Linked DNA regions of Homo sapiens: regions 2, 3, 4 and 5 are each linked to region 1. The links are contacts of gene promoters, found by promoter capture Hi-C in human tissues and cell types (Jung and others, 2019). All regions are on one chromosome and are shown on one strand. Each heading gives the region's core, a stretch centred on a gene start or on the middle of the fragment in contact. The rest is flanking DNA. Distances are from core to core; before and after follow the strand shown.

Region 1 (2,590 bases), core at 45-2,544:
TTATGTTGATGGAACAACGATGTAAAATAAGAAAATTCCTGAGATAATTTTAAAAAGAGGGCAGAAAAAACTCATAGTAGACTTCATCGAGGAATGTATAAAATGGGTAGAACCTGGAGTATTCAGTGGCAAAATCTTGGACACAGGAATACAGTAACACAACATATTGGTCTAGCAAGCACTGGAGGAGACTGAGGCGGAATTGTCCAGCGAATCCCACAAAAATGGAAATGAAGAGGTCTCAGTATCTCTAGGTGCCCGGGTCCGATGGAATACCGATGTACATACCTTTTCTAACACAGTAGCATTAGTTTATATATCAGCATTACCTCTCTTTTGTTTCAGTTGATAAGTATCCTACTGTAATCCATTCATTCACACTTTGCTTGTTCATTGTTGAAACAAATTCTCCCTGGAACAAAATTCTAGTAACCAAATACATCATATCAGGGGAAACTTCCTTACAGCAGGGATGGTATTAAAGTAAAAAGAGGAGGAAGTCCCTTCTTCAGCTCTGGCAGGGACCCGGCTGGGGAGGAAACCTTCCCGCAAGGTAGGTGATCTGCTGTGGTGACCAGGCTAAACCCACTCTACAGCTGCAGGAGGGACTGGCATCCCTTAGAGGTGAAGAGGGGAGGAGACCCACCTCCTGGAATGTGTCCCTGTGGTCTCCAGATGATTTCTTCCTCTAATAAGGACAATTCTGCCAAAGGAATGGAATGCTTCGTCACAGGCTCAATTACTCTGTCTCCGCCAGCCTACCACCTATAAACAATTCCTCAAATTAGGAAAGCGGGGAGATTTAATAAAGACATAACACGTAAAGTGTAGGAAAACTATTTGTATGGCATTCCGAGACGACTAGGTCAGAGTTAACAAGTAAGGAGCAAAGTAGTTAATAATACCAATTCTGTTTACCCATCACAACACCTGTGCTGAATGTCAGGGTTTAAAAAAATCTCCCAACCTTTATCTAAAAAGATAGGGCTACGTAACAATCGGTGTGGTTTTTGTCGGTAGAGGTCTAGGAAGCCGCAAGAGTAGTGGACGCCTTGACAGCTGCCCTTCTCGCGGGCCCCGCGGCGGCGTGCCCGTGTGGTTGCGTGCGCGCGGACGGGGCGGGGCTGAGGAGGGACGTGCGCGCGCGCGGACGGGGCGGGGTGGAGCTCGGAGGGCGGACGCGCTCGGGGCCGTCTGGTCGGCAGGGGGCGCTGCGCACCCATGCCGCGCTCTGCCTGCCCCCGGGTGCTGTCCGCGGCGGTTCGATTGGAGCAGCCGCCGAAGAGCGCTTGGCGCCATTTTGAAGCGGAGAGGAGGAGGAACGGCAGGGCTGGCTGCGGAAGGGGAGGGGGGGGGAGAAGGCGATTGGATGCGGCGGCGGCGGCGGATCCCGGAGAGCCCCGGAGTGAGCGGAGTAGCGAGTCGGCAACCCGGAGGTAGGAAACAATTCAGTTAACGGAAAGAAAATGTCTCTCTTCTCTGGCTGCGGCGCTCCATTTTTCAGCGGCCGCCACTGCCGCTGTGTGCGTGTGTGTGGCAGGGCTGAAGCGCCGCCCGCCTGGGTGCCAGGCGCGACTCGCCTCCCGGCATCGGGGGCTGCAGCGGGTGGCTGCCTGGCGGTGGCCCGGGGCGGGGGTCGCGGGGCGCGGGCCGGCTGCGCGGTGGGGGTGGGGAGGGCCCCGCGGCCGGCGCGCGCCTCCACGCCGCGGGTTCTGCCGCAGCCTCTGGAAAATTAAACTTGCCGCTCTGATCCCGGCCGGGGCGGCGGCGGCGGCGGGCGGTGACCTTGCGCGCGGGCGGGGGTCTCGGGGCCGCCCGGCCGCCCGCGCCCTCCCGCCGCCGCCGTCGCCGCCGCCGCGCCCCTCCCCCCGCGCCCCGGCCGGCCGGCGGCTGTTTCCCGGGCGGCAGGCGGGCGGCGCGGTGCTCCTGTTGAATCCTCCCGCGGGCGGGCTTCTCCCCCTTCCGGGCGAGGGGCGGGCGGGGACCGCGGGTCGGGGCCGCGGGCGCTCTCGCCCCCGCCGCCGGGTCCCCGCGCGCCGCCTGGCCTCCGCTTCGGGCCAGGGGACGGGCTGAGCGTGACATTTTTGCACTGTCCCTCGCCGCTCGCCGGAGGGAAATCGCGCTCACCGCGCCACCCCGAGTGGTCCCCGAGCAGCCAGTTGAGGAAGAGCCCAGCACTGGCGTGGAGGGACTCCTCCCAGGCCACAACTGGGTTCTAGCTTTCCTTTCAGAAGGAACGGCGGGGAAAATGGTGTGCAATTGTGACTCGTTATTGTTTTTACACTGTTATTTTAATGTTACTTTAAAAGTTTTCGGTCCGGAGAAAAACCTTGTTTGTTGTTGTTGCTGCTACTGCTGTTGGTTTTTGGTAGAGACGTGAAAGCTAACTCTTAAGTAGCTCGACAGTTATTTTGGACGAATGACTGAAACCAGAAACGCCGCCCCTCGCCTTCGGAGCTGCAGGCTGCTGCGTTCCTTGCCGCGGACGGGGCGAGCTCCGGGAAGGGTTGGTAGAGCAGCTACCCACCCACTCCACGCGCGTCTTCAACAGCCTCTCTCCCCCAGCGAGGGTTAACCCTTTTTTATGTCG
Region 2 (2,590 bases), core at 53-2,552, 1.1 Mb after region 1:
GTTTCAAGGTGCATGCAAGACATTCAGGTAGATGTCTTAAATTGTAGCAGCAGCAGTAGCAGCCATAGCCACTAACATTCCTGAGCACATCTGATATGCCCAGTGCTATTCCAAGTGTTTTCCATGCATTTAACACACACATTCCTCGAAATAACCTCAAGCACTATCAGCCTCACCATTTTACTGATGAGGACACTGAGGCCCATAGACAGGCTAAGTCACTTGTACAAGTCACACAGTCTGCAAGTTGATGGATGGAGTTTTGAACCCAGACAGTATGACTGCAGGGCCCTCCACTTAGCCACACTGTTGTGTTGAGAAGAGTAGGGATGGGATCTGAGGCTGGGAATCTAGGAGCTGCTAAATTGCAGAGCCATGGGATACATTTTTTCAAGGAGTGGGTATAGAGATAAGACAAGATTGCCAAGTGCGGGTCTTAGGACATCTGACCAGCAAAGTTGGGGGCTAAGAAGACAAAGCAAGAGTGCTCCAAGATGGAAGGGATACAGGGGGGCACCAAGGAGGGTGCAGGATGGGAAAGGAATTTGGAAGCCTGTCCACCCTCCTCCTATGGGACCCAGTCTTCAGGGCAAGGAGAAATAATATTCGCCACTTAGAACTTTTACCATGGATGTTAAGCTAGTAGAACTAAGTGTAACTACAACTAAACCTATAGCTGAAACATGAAAACATCGCTGACATTTCCAATGAACATCTCTCCTCAGTAAAGGCTGAGATCCTTTCTCTCAAGAGAGCTCTCAAGGTTATTTGCAGCTAGGAGAGATATAGTTGTTTCTAAAAAGTTTAATCTTCCCTATTAAAGTCCAAGACACACCAGACACAGAAAAGCCAGATTGCTCACTCCTTTATCTCTCCAGAGTGATGACCCTGAAAAAGCTCCCTCTGAAGATGCCATGAGCTGCACTGGAAGTTGAACACTTGGAGTGTCTTCTTGAAATTGACCCGATAATCTTATAGATCAGGGGTTGGTGGCCTGTTAGGACCCAGGCCACAAAGGAGGTGGAGAGCTGTGGGTGGGCAAGTGTTACCACCTGAAATCCACCTCCTGTCAGATCAGCAGCAGCATTAGATTCTCATACAAGTGCAAATCCTACTGTGAAATGCGCATACGAGGGATCTAGGTTGTGTGCTCCTTTTGAGAATCTAATGCCTGAGGATCTGAGGTTGAACAGTTTCATCCTGAAACCATCCACCCCACAAACCCCCCACTCCACCCCTGGACCATGGAAAAATTGTTTTCCATGAAACTAGTCCCTGGCACCAAAAAGGTTGGGGACCATTGCCATAGATAGGTTTGTTTTTGTTCGTTTGTTTGATAAACATACAATATTTAATTGCAAATTGACCCCTAGTCTTAAAGCTTGAAACTTACATTTGTTTCATCTGAGTTCCTACCTCAGGAAACAACCTTCAGGTCTCTCAGAAAAAGTGCCAAAGAACTAAAACTCACCAGGTCAGGCCTCTCAAGTCTGACCCCTCATTTATCATTGTTGCTTCCTTGCCCCTCCTATTTTCTTACACATTGTTACATCCTTTCCTTTCTATATAAATCCCTAGTTTTAGTCCGTCAGGGGAGATGGATTTGAGACTGAGCTCCCATCTCCATGGCTGCAGCACCCGATTAAAGCCTTCGTCCTTGGATTTTACAAATCTAGATGTATCTGTATGGCTTTCTCTGATCAAATTCTACCTGTTGCCATGTTTGATAACAGTGCTTATAAATCTTGTATAGTTCAAGAAACTTTAATTGTAGAATCCCTAGATCAAAGAGGTTCACTCTTGCTATTTTGATTTTCAGTATTTCTAGAACCCTGTCAGAGTTTCTTGTATTGTTCTGAACAGTATTTAATTGCAAACAATTTGAAGAAATTCCTTTTAAAGTCTAAGAAAGATATATTTGTCATGTGTAGAGAGAGTGTGTCCTTTTTTGCACTGGCTGTTTCAAAAATCTGAATAAGAGATGGTTTAGTTGAAACTGTTTATTGTTAAGATAACAATCTGATGATTCCAAAATGAAGTCAACAGTGGAATAGTGTTTGTTTTCATGATCAGAAACTCAGTCTGTGTGGAGATGTAGATGTTATAGTTTACTCTGAAGGTTTTTAAAATTACTTTTGATTTTTCTTCTGGAAGTTTTGCAGAGGCCTTCTGGCCCAGAGTGAAGGTTCTGACTATAACATTTTAGGGCCTGGAAAGATTGCAGTTGCTGTCCTTGTGGATGCAAAGTAACGTTGTTCCCTGCTCAGAGGGATTTGAAAGATTATTAAAAATTCAACAGATTTTTCTGAAATCCCTTGTATTTCCCTCGCACATTTTGAAGGCTTTCCTTTCAGAGAGAACCAATTCACCTGACTTCATAAGAAAAAGAATCCTATCCCTGATCTGATACATTATTGCCATCCTGGTATTTTCTGCCATATTATTGTTTCCTTGGAGGCCTCAAGGTACAGACATGAAGGTGTGGATTTGGGTGCAAAAAACGGTTAAAGCCACTCATTAAACATGACACCTTCCAGCTAAGAGAAGAAAAAAAATCCAGTTACACACACACTCAGGTTTGCTTATTTTC
Region 3 (2,590 bases), core at 49-2,548, 1.1 Mb after region 1:
ACATCACTTTCCTTTTTCTGTCCATAGATTTTCTTCCACCATGTGGCTGCGCTGGAGTCTCTGAGCCTACTCTCGTTCAAGAGGCTGCCCAATTCGGGGATCATTCATTGCTCAATGAAACTGTTCTAAATTTAATTCGGCTGAAGTTTTTCTTTTATCAGTTGTTGAACTGAAACACTTTGCACCTACCTAATTGTTTCAAATATCTATTAAAAAATGGCAAATATCTGTTCAAAAATGGACCTCTAGGAAAAATCGAACTGCTAAAACCAAGTCCTAGGTCTTTTATTAGACATGCAAACTTGAATATTTGAATAAATGAAATGATGATGTCTTAGTTTCACTTCACCAGCAACCTGGTGGTGGGCATTGTGGGAGAGTATGGGTGAGGGTGGCTATGAGTTGACAATTGGTCAAACTGGATTGCTAGGACAGGGGGGCTTATGATAGTATTCACTTAAAATTCCAAGAAAAGAAGAGTTTCTGCCTGTATAGTAGTGACAGAACAGGAATAGGACTGTGCTCCCATGTGCCCAAGAGGTAGTCTCTATGCCCAAGGTAGTAGATTACAGATGGAGACTAAAGAGAACGTGTTTCCTGGAACCCTGAGTGAGAAGATGAGTGAAAGATGATGCTCACCGCTAGTTCTTCACCTTCCTTCTGAAGGCCCTATTTTGTTAAAGCTGACTGGGTCCTACCTTTTGTTACAGGGATGGTTGGCTAGTCCTCATAATTGCATCTAGCCCTGAAGATCACATGCTATTTTACATTGGTGTTTGCTCAGCTTCAGGGAGTGAAGAAAGCTGGCATAGAGGCTAACTAAAAACAGCAAAAATAGCAATTAAAATTTTCATTGAATGGTCCAGCTGTGCTAAGTAGTTTACCACATATTGTTTTATTTAATTGTCTTAACAACCCTGACAGGTAATACTAATATTACCTCTACTTTTACCCATGGGAAAATGGACAGAGAAAAGTTAAATGCATTTCCCAAAACTGGCAAGTGGCAGGTCCTGGATCACAATGTAAACTTGTGCTCTAAGTCACAGCCATGTATTGCCTTATTTTCTGTTGCACCAAGTTAAGAGCAATGGAAAGCACATCCTACTGAGAATGGCTTGCAGAATAGGACTAAAGACTCAGCCTTCAGCCTATAATCCGCAGAAGCAGATGGGTGTAAAGGAACACAGACACAGGAAATGACCCTCATAGAAACAAATAAAAAAGGAATGCAGAAACCTCTACTAAGTAGATAAATGTAGTTCTGTCCAGGACAGACAGAAGAGGCCGGCTTCTCTGATTTTCATCCCCTCCTGAGTCTTTAAACCTTATCAGAGTATGCTCATGCTTTCTCCAGCCTCTCATGCCTGGGTTCACTGGTGTGTGGCACACCATCGCCAGTGGTCCTTTGGGACTTCCACCGCTTGCTCACCTCCATCTGGAATCTTACCCATGCTCACTAACTGCTATGATAAGAAGAGGATGTTCTTTTTTTTTTTTTTTTTTTTTTTGAGACAGAATCTCACTCTGTCACCCAGACTGGAGTGCAGTGGTGTGATCTCAGCTCACTGCAACCTCTGCCGCCTGGGTTCAAGCAATTCTCCTGCCTCAGCCTCCCGAGTAGCTGGGATTACAGGCACCTGCCACCGCACCCGGCTAACTTTTGTATTTTTAATAGAGACTGGGTTTCATCATTTTGGCTAGGCTGATCTTGAACTCCTGACCTCGTGATCCACCCACTTTGGCCTCCCAAAGTGCTGGGATTACAGGCGTGAGCCACCACACCCGGCCAGAAGAGGATGTTCTTCTTATCCTACTCTTGTATGTCCCTTAAGAGCCCTATCTGTCCAAATGTACTTTGTTACAAAATCTAATCATTATTCTTTACACTTGTGCAGATTTGAAGATTGTTCCTGCCCTGGTAGGCCAACTACTACCACCTTCTCCATATTTACCCACAAATGCCTGAGTAACATTTAAATAAATAGAACTTTTGGAGTGGGAAGTGTTGGAATCACCTTCTGGATTGGCTGATCATTTGGGCTGCAGGATCCTGAGGGTAGCTCAAGGATTACATATGTATTCACAAGCAAGGAAAGCCACAGGGGGATGAGACTACGATACAGGCTGTGACTTGCACAGGGCTTGGCATATAGTATGCCAAGTATCTTATATTCTTCCTCTGTGTTTCTAATAATGTCACCAAATATCACATTGAACTTCAGTGGGACATTTTGAAAATCCTTCATGGTATCATTGCAGACAAGATTAAGAATATGGGCAGCGCTAATGCAACTAGGCAGATTAATAACTCATTGAACGAACATAATTGGAGAATGTCACCAAAGATCGCGTTGCATTTTTTTGTCTATAACATATGGAATTTACTATCAACTAAAATCCTAAAGTCTTATTTCACAAGTACAAATTCTTCCAATGAGGGCTTGTGCACTTATGATTATGAACCAAAATAAATAATCTTATATTTGTCACAGTTACTTAGGTCTAGGTAGCTTGAGCTCATTATTCCAACCTGTTAAGATCTGTTTTTGTTTTGATGCTGTCGTCACATAAGTGCATTCTTCCTTTT
Region 4 (2,590 bases), core at 65-2,564, 1.0 Mb after region 1:
GAAAGAGTATGAATTAATCCAGCACACATCCCAAATTCAGAATAACAAATCTGGAATGTGGAGGCCCACCTGTCTGTGGGTCCATGTTGAGAAGTCTACACTTTTGATTACATGTTTGCCTATTTGTAAATGACAAGATTTGTCCTGCACTAGCAAAAAAATAAAATAAAATAAAAATTCTGGCCATCAGGACTAAAGAATCCATAAAACTTAGAATAGTATAGTTACAAAATTGGTTCTGATAAAGGGAAATAGAATAAACCTGCTTCAAACTTCATCAATCATTGTTCCCTTTATCATTTTCAGATCATTAAACCAGCTTTTAATCACAAACACTAATATTTTATTGTATATTTTCTGCTTAAATCTAGACAGTGTTAGCTTGGCATTGACTTTCCCAAGTAGCAGAATTAGTGATATTTTGAATGATATAAAGGGTATTTATCTATTCTTTCATTAGCAAACATTATGTAAGTAGTTACTATGTGTGTAGCATAGTGCTGTATTGTAAGGTAACTGTCTTCAACATCCAGGTAGGATTAGTTTCTCCACTTGTAGATAGGTACATCTATGCTATAACATATGTATTATGTCCTTGGCTGGGTATGGTGGCTCACGTCTGTAATCCCAGCACTTCGGGAGGCTGAGGTGGGTGGATCACGAGGTCAGGAGTTCAAGACCAGCCTGGCCAAGATGGTGAAACCCCGTCTCTACTAAAAATACAAAAATTGGCCGAGTGCGGTGGCGGGCACCTGTAAGTCCAGCTACTCAGGAGGCTGAGCCAGGAGAATCACTCGAACCTGGGAGGTGGAGGTTGCAGTGAGCTGAGACCGTGTCACTGCATTCTAGCCTGGGTGACAGAGCAAGACTCCATCTCAAAAAAAAAAAAAAAATGTTCTTTTCTGCCTCAAGATAGGTTGAGATTGTCCTTCATGGCCCTGGACATGGTCCAAAAGGTGGAGAGGCCTCAGTGGTCCTTTCTGAATGTGAGCACCCAAGCCTGCCCATTGGCCTAGCCCTTAATTTATGTACATGTGTCATTTATGGCCCATCCTCCAGGGCTGCACCGTGGGGCTCCTGCCTTTTCTGACGTACAGCAACCACAATAGTGAGATGAACATCGAAGCTATTGGAGAAAGTCCCACCACTATAGTGTAAATCAGCCTAGATTTACTTTGCGTAATTTTAGGCTATTTCTTTTTTTTCTTTCTTTTTTTTTTTTTTGAGACGGAGTCTCGCTCTGTTGCCAGGCTGGAGTGCAGTGGCACGATCTCGACTCACTGCAACCTAATTTTAGGCTATTTCTAAGACAGTCATCTTTTGGTTGAACAAGGTAATGAGTTGGGATAAATATATCTTTTTTCATTCCTGGACTCTCTCTCTTGTAAAACACACACACACACACACACACACACACACACACACACACACACCACATGCATCATGGACACATATACTTCTAATGTTTTTCTTTTATTTATCCCAGAAATTGAACTAGGGATGCCCCTGTCTCTATTCTTTCTGCTCTGTACCTGGTACTAATTAATTTATTCATTAGTATTAATAACAAGCCTGGTCACTTTTCATCCAGTCATGTTTGTTCCCTCCACATCAGAAAGAACTCTTGTGACCAACATCAAAATTCAAGTTCAGGTATGTGTACGAGTCAGAATGGGTCCTTCTTTTTCTCAGAATTACATTGTAAGGAACCTATTCTAATAGGCATTAAAGTAACTAGCTTTGGCTTCACTCAGCAGGAATCTCACATAATCAGAATTGAATGTGACAAAACTCAATCCATTCTGTATAAACAAGAGACACCTTAGAGAAATCAAATCTCTTTGAAGGACTGAAGTAGGAAGGCTAAGAAGAAGGTACACCTGATACACTCTTTCTTTCACTCTAACAGGCACCTGAACCTCCGTGGCACAGCAGATGGGAATGACTGACGTGGCTGAGCATTCATCTGCCCCAGGGAGGCACCGCATTGTAGGGGATGAACAGAGACTTTTCAATCAGATAGACCTGCATTCAAATCCCAGATCAGTCTCCTACTGCCTTTTGATCTTAGGAAAGTTGCATCACTCTTCACCAGAGTTCCAACCCTGAGTTTCATTCTCTGTCAACTGGAAATGGAAATAGCTATGATGGTAGCGAGGGTTACATGAGATGCTATTTGCTCAGTGCCAATGATCAATAGCAGATGGCAGTTATGTGATTACGATTACTGTGGGATCTTTTCAAAAGAGGGTCGCCAGCAGCTTCTTAGCTATGTTGAGCTTGATTGTCTGTGAAGGCAGAGGCCTGGGTGGTAGCTGCATAAAGAGACAGCTCTACTTCTTGTATGTCTTGGGTTGTAGGCCAGGTCCCCAGTTCAACTCCTCCTCTACATGAGGCTACCCCAACTCCACGGGCCAAACGCCATAGGAAAGCAGATATTACATTTAGAAGTCCTGATTTCACTTTTAACTATACTTCATTGGTAAGACAACAATAATGTCAGCTCATTAGCAAATCAACAAATAACACTTTAACTGGAAATTACTGGACACTATTACTTAGACTGTCCTGGAAGAGGGCTCTAAAGTGT
Region 5 (2,590 bases), core at 39-2,538, 1.0 Mb after region 1:
TAGCTGGGTGTAGTGGCAGGTATCTGTAATCCTAGCTACTCAGGAGGCTGAGACAGGAGAACTGCTTGGACTCCGGAGGTGGAGGTTGCAGTGAGCCAAGATCGCACCATTGCACTCCAGCCTGGGCAACAAGAGCAAAACTCCATCTCAAAAAGAAAAAAAGAAAAAATGCAATAATAATACCTATATATAAGGTTATTGTAAGAAAGAAAAGGGTTAATATGTGTAAAACATGTAGAATATTTCTCAGGATATTATAAGTTCTTAAAATATTAGCTTTATTTTCACTATCGCATTAATTTCTGCTTTTCCTTTAATGATTTTTCTTCCATTTTTTGCATTTACTCTGCTATTAATCTAACTTCTTGGGTTGTATACTTTATTATCTGAAATTTTTTTCAGTATGGGCATTTTAAGGCTGTCTACTTTCTATAATTACTGCCTTAACAGAATCTCAAAAGCTTTGATATGTAACATTATTATTTTATGTAGTTTTTAATTTCCACTGGTGTATTAGTTTTCTTTTGCTGCTGTAAAGAAATTACCACAAATGTAGTGGCTTAAAATAACACAAATGTCTTATAGTTCTACAGATCAAAAGTCTAACACTGGTGTTATTGGGCTGAAATCCAGGCGATGGCAGAGCTGCGCTCCTTTCTGGAGGCTCCGGGGAGAATTCTCTTCCTTAACCTTTCAAGCTTCTCGAGGCCCTCTGCACTCCCTGGTATGCTGCATCTTTCAGACCGCTTCTTCTGCCTCTCTCCCAGGCACTTTAGGACCCTTTCATTTACACTGGGTGCACCTGGATAATCCGGGTTAATCTCTTTGTTTAAGGTCAGCTCATTAGCAGCCTTAATTCATCTGCTACCTTCATTCCTTTTGTCACGTGACCTAGCATTTCACAGTTCCCAGGGATTACAAAGTGGATACTTGGGGGACAGTTTTGTTTTTTTTTTTTTGCCTACCGCAACTGATTTATACATTTTTAAGTGTCCCAATATATGTGAAATTTTTGGTTGATTTTGATTTTTAATTTTAAAGCACTGAAGTTACACAATGCACTAATAATAAAAATAATAACAAAAATAAAACAAAAACATGGTGTTTAAGATTACGAGTGAGTTAGTTTGTCAGCTATCATTGTTTCTTTTTTTTTTTTTTTTGAGACAGAACCTCGCTCTATCACCCAGGCTGGAGTGCAGTGGCGCAATCTCAGCTCACTGCAACCTCCGCCTCCTGGGTTCAAATGATTCTCCTGCCTCAGCCTCCAAGTATCTGGGACTACAGGTGCGTGCCACCACACCTGGCTAATTTTTTGTATTTTTAGTAGAGATGAGGTTTCACTGTCTTAGCCAGGATGGTCTGGATCTCCTGACCTGGTGATCCGCCTGCCTCAGCCTCCCAAAGTGCTGGGATTACAGGTGTGAGCCACCACGCCTGGCCCATTGTTTCTTTTCTGATGGTGCAAATTGGAGGCAGGAGAGGTTAAAAAGTTAAACTGATTAGAAAGGAAGAAAAAAAATTCATTCTTGATATTATCGTCCACACAGTTAATCCTAGAATTTATGCAAACTATTAGAACAAATAAAAAATGTTGGATTGTATTTAGATACAAGATATAATATAAAATATTATTTGCATTACAATAACTAAGCAACAAATAATCAGATGACATAATTTTGAAAGACACAATTTATGTTAATAATAAAATCTAAAAGCTGCCCAGAAAAAAAAGTAATGAAAATGTCCAATATCTCTAAAGAAACCGTTTTTTAGAGATAGAGTCTCACTTTGTTACCCAGGCTGGAGTACAATGGCACAATCCTAGCCTTTGGCAGCCTCAAACTCCTGGGCTCAAGCGATCCTCCCACCTCAGGCTTTGGAATAGCTGGGACTACAGGCATGTGCCACCATGCCCTTTTTTTCTTATTTTTTGTAGAGATGGGGTCTCACTATGTTGCTCAGACTGGTCTGGAACTCCAGGCCTCAAGTTATCTTTCTGCCTTGGCCTCCCAAAGTACTGGGATTACAGGTGCAAGCCACTGTGCCCAGCCCATGAAAACATTTTTAAAAGACATGCAAGAAGAACTTATTGAGAGATGCATTGCTTTCACAATGGAAAGACTAAATATCATAAAGATGTCCATTCTCCCAAAATTACTTAATACATTTAATATAATTGCACTCATAGTCTCAATAGGCATTTTTAGGGATCTGGACAAGCTGATTCTGAAATATTATGAAAGAGTAAATGGCCAACAAGTGCCAAGAAAATCTAGAAGAAAGAAAAATAGGAAGAGGGAAAAATAGGGGAAAAATCCATAAGACTTTATAAAATTTAGTAATTTTAAAAGTATAGAACTGATTCAGAGATAGAAAAGTAAATCAATGAGCAAACATAGAAATCAGCACACAAAATAGGGAAACAATATGACAGGTAGTATCATAATTCAGTGGTGATAAGGTAGACTCTTCAACAGATAGTGTAGAACAGTTCATTACATACATGAAAAAGTTAAATCCCTATTTCATGATATACAAATTCACATTCCCAGATTCAGGCTTAAAGATTGAAATTAAAAAAAAGAAA

The links. Contacts are between HindIII fragments. The study calls those that stand out against the background at their distance.
Region 2: a contact is called between a fragment that was not itself captured here and the fragment with the promoter of PDS5B in region 1, in 1 of the 25 tissues and cell types used here (lymphoblastoid cells).
Region 3: a fragment that was not itself captured here is called in contact with the fragment with the promoter of PDS5B in region 1 in 1 of the 25 tissues and cell types used here (heart left ventricle).
Region 4: a contact is called between a fragment that was not itself captured here and the fragment with the promoter of PDS5B in region 1, in 1 of the 25 tissues and cell types used here (dorsolateral prefrontal cortex).
Region 5: a contact is called between a fragment that was not itself captured here and the fragment with the promoter of PDS5B in region 1, in 1 of the 25 tissues and cell types used here (dorsolateral prefrontal cortex).

Annotation. Positions count from the first base shown.
Region 1 is chr13:32,585,158-32,587,747 of GRCh38, forward strand. PDS5B (PDS5 cohesin associated factor B) reads left to right here and starts at 1,295. Exons shown (of 35, transcript NM_015032.4): 1 at 1,295-1,436. It overlaps PDS5B-DT (PDS5B divergent transcript), which reads right to left and starts at 1,288. Exons shown (of 3, transcript XR_001749808.1): 1 at 1,220-1,288; 2 at 647-765; 3 at 1-412. RefSeq lists silencers at 980-1,349, 1,360-1,439, 1,860-2,109 and an enhancer at 2,340-2,399. The HindIII fragment of the contact is 11,896 bases long and covers 1-2,590 here.
Region 2 is chr13:33,687,304-33,689,893 of GRCh38, forward strand. No RefSeq gene overlaps it. Among named protein-coding and RNA genes, the nearest start is that of RFC3, 130 kb to the right of the region's middle. The HindIII fragment of the contact is 3,562 bases long and covers 1-2,590 here.
Region 3 is chr13:33,668,043-33,670,632 of GRCh38, forward strand. It overlaps a transcript of STARD13 not described here. Among named protein-coding and RNA genes, the nearest start is that of RFC3, 150 kb to the right of the region's middle. The HindIII fragment of the contact is 5,783 bases long and covers 1-2,590 here.
Region 4 is chr13:33,626,760-33,629,349 of GRCh38, forward strand. It overlaps a transcript of STARD13 not described here. Among named protein-coding and RNA genes, the nearest start is that of RFC3, 190 kb to the right of the region's middle. The HindIII fragment of the contact is 4,338 bases long and covers 1-2,590 here.
Region 5 is chr13:33,606,153-33,608,742 of GRCh38, forward strand. LOC102723406 (a long non-coding RNA gene) reads left to right here. Exons shown (of 6, transcript XR_007063750.1): 4 at 586-724. It also overlaps a transcript of STARD13 not described here. Among named protein-coding and RNA genes, the nearest start is that of RFC3, 210 kb to the right of the region's middle. The HindIII fragment of the contact is 5,256 bases long and covers 1-2,590 here.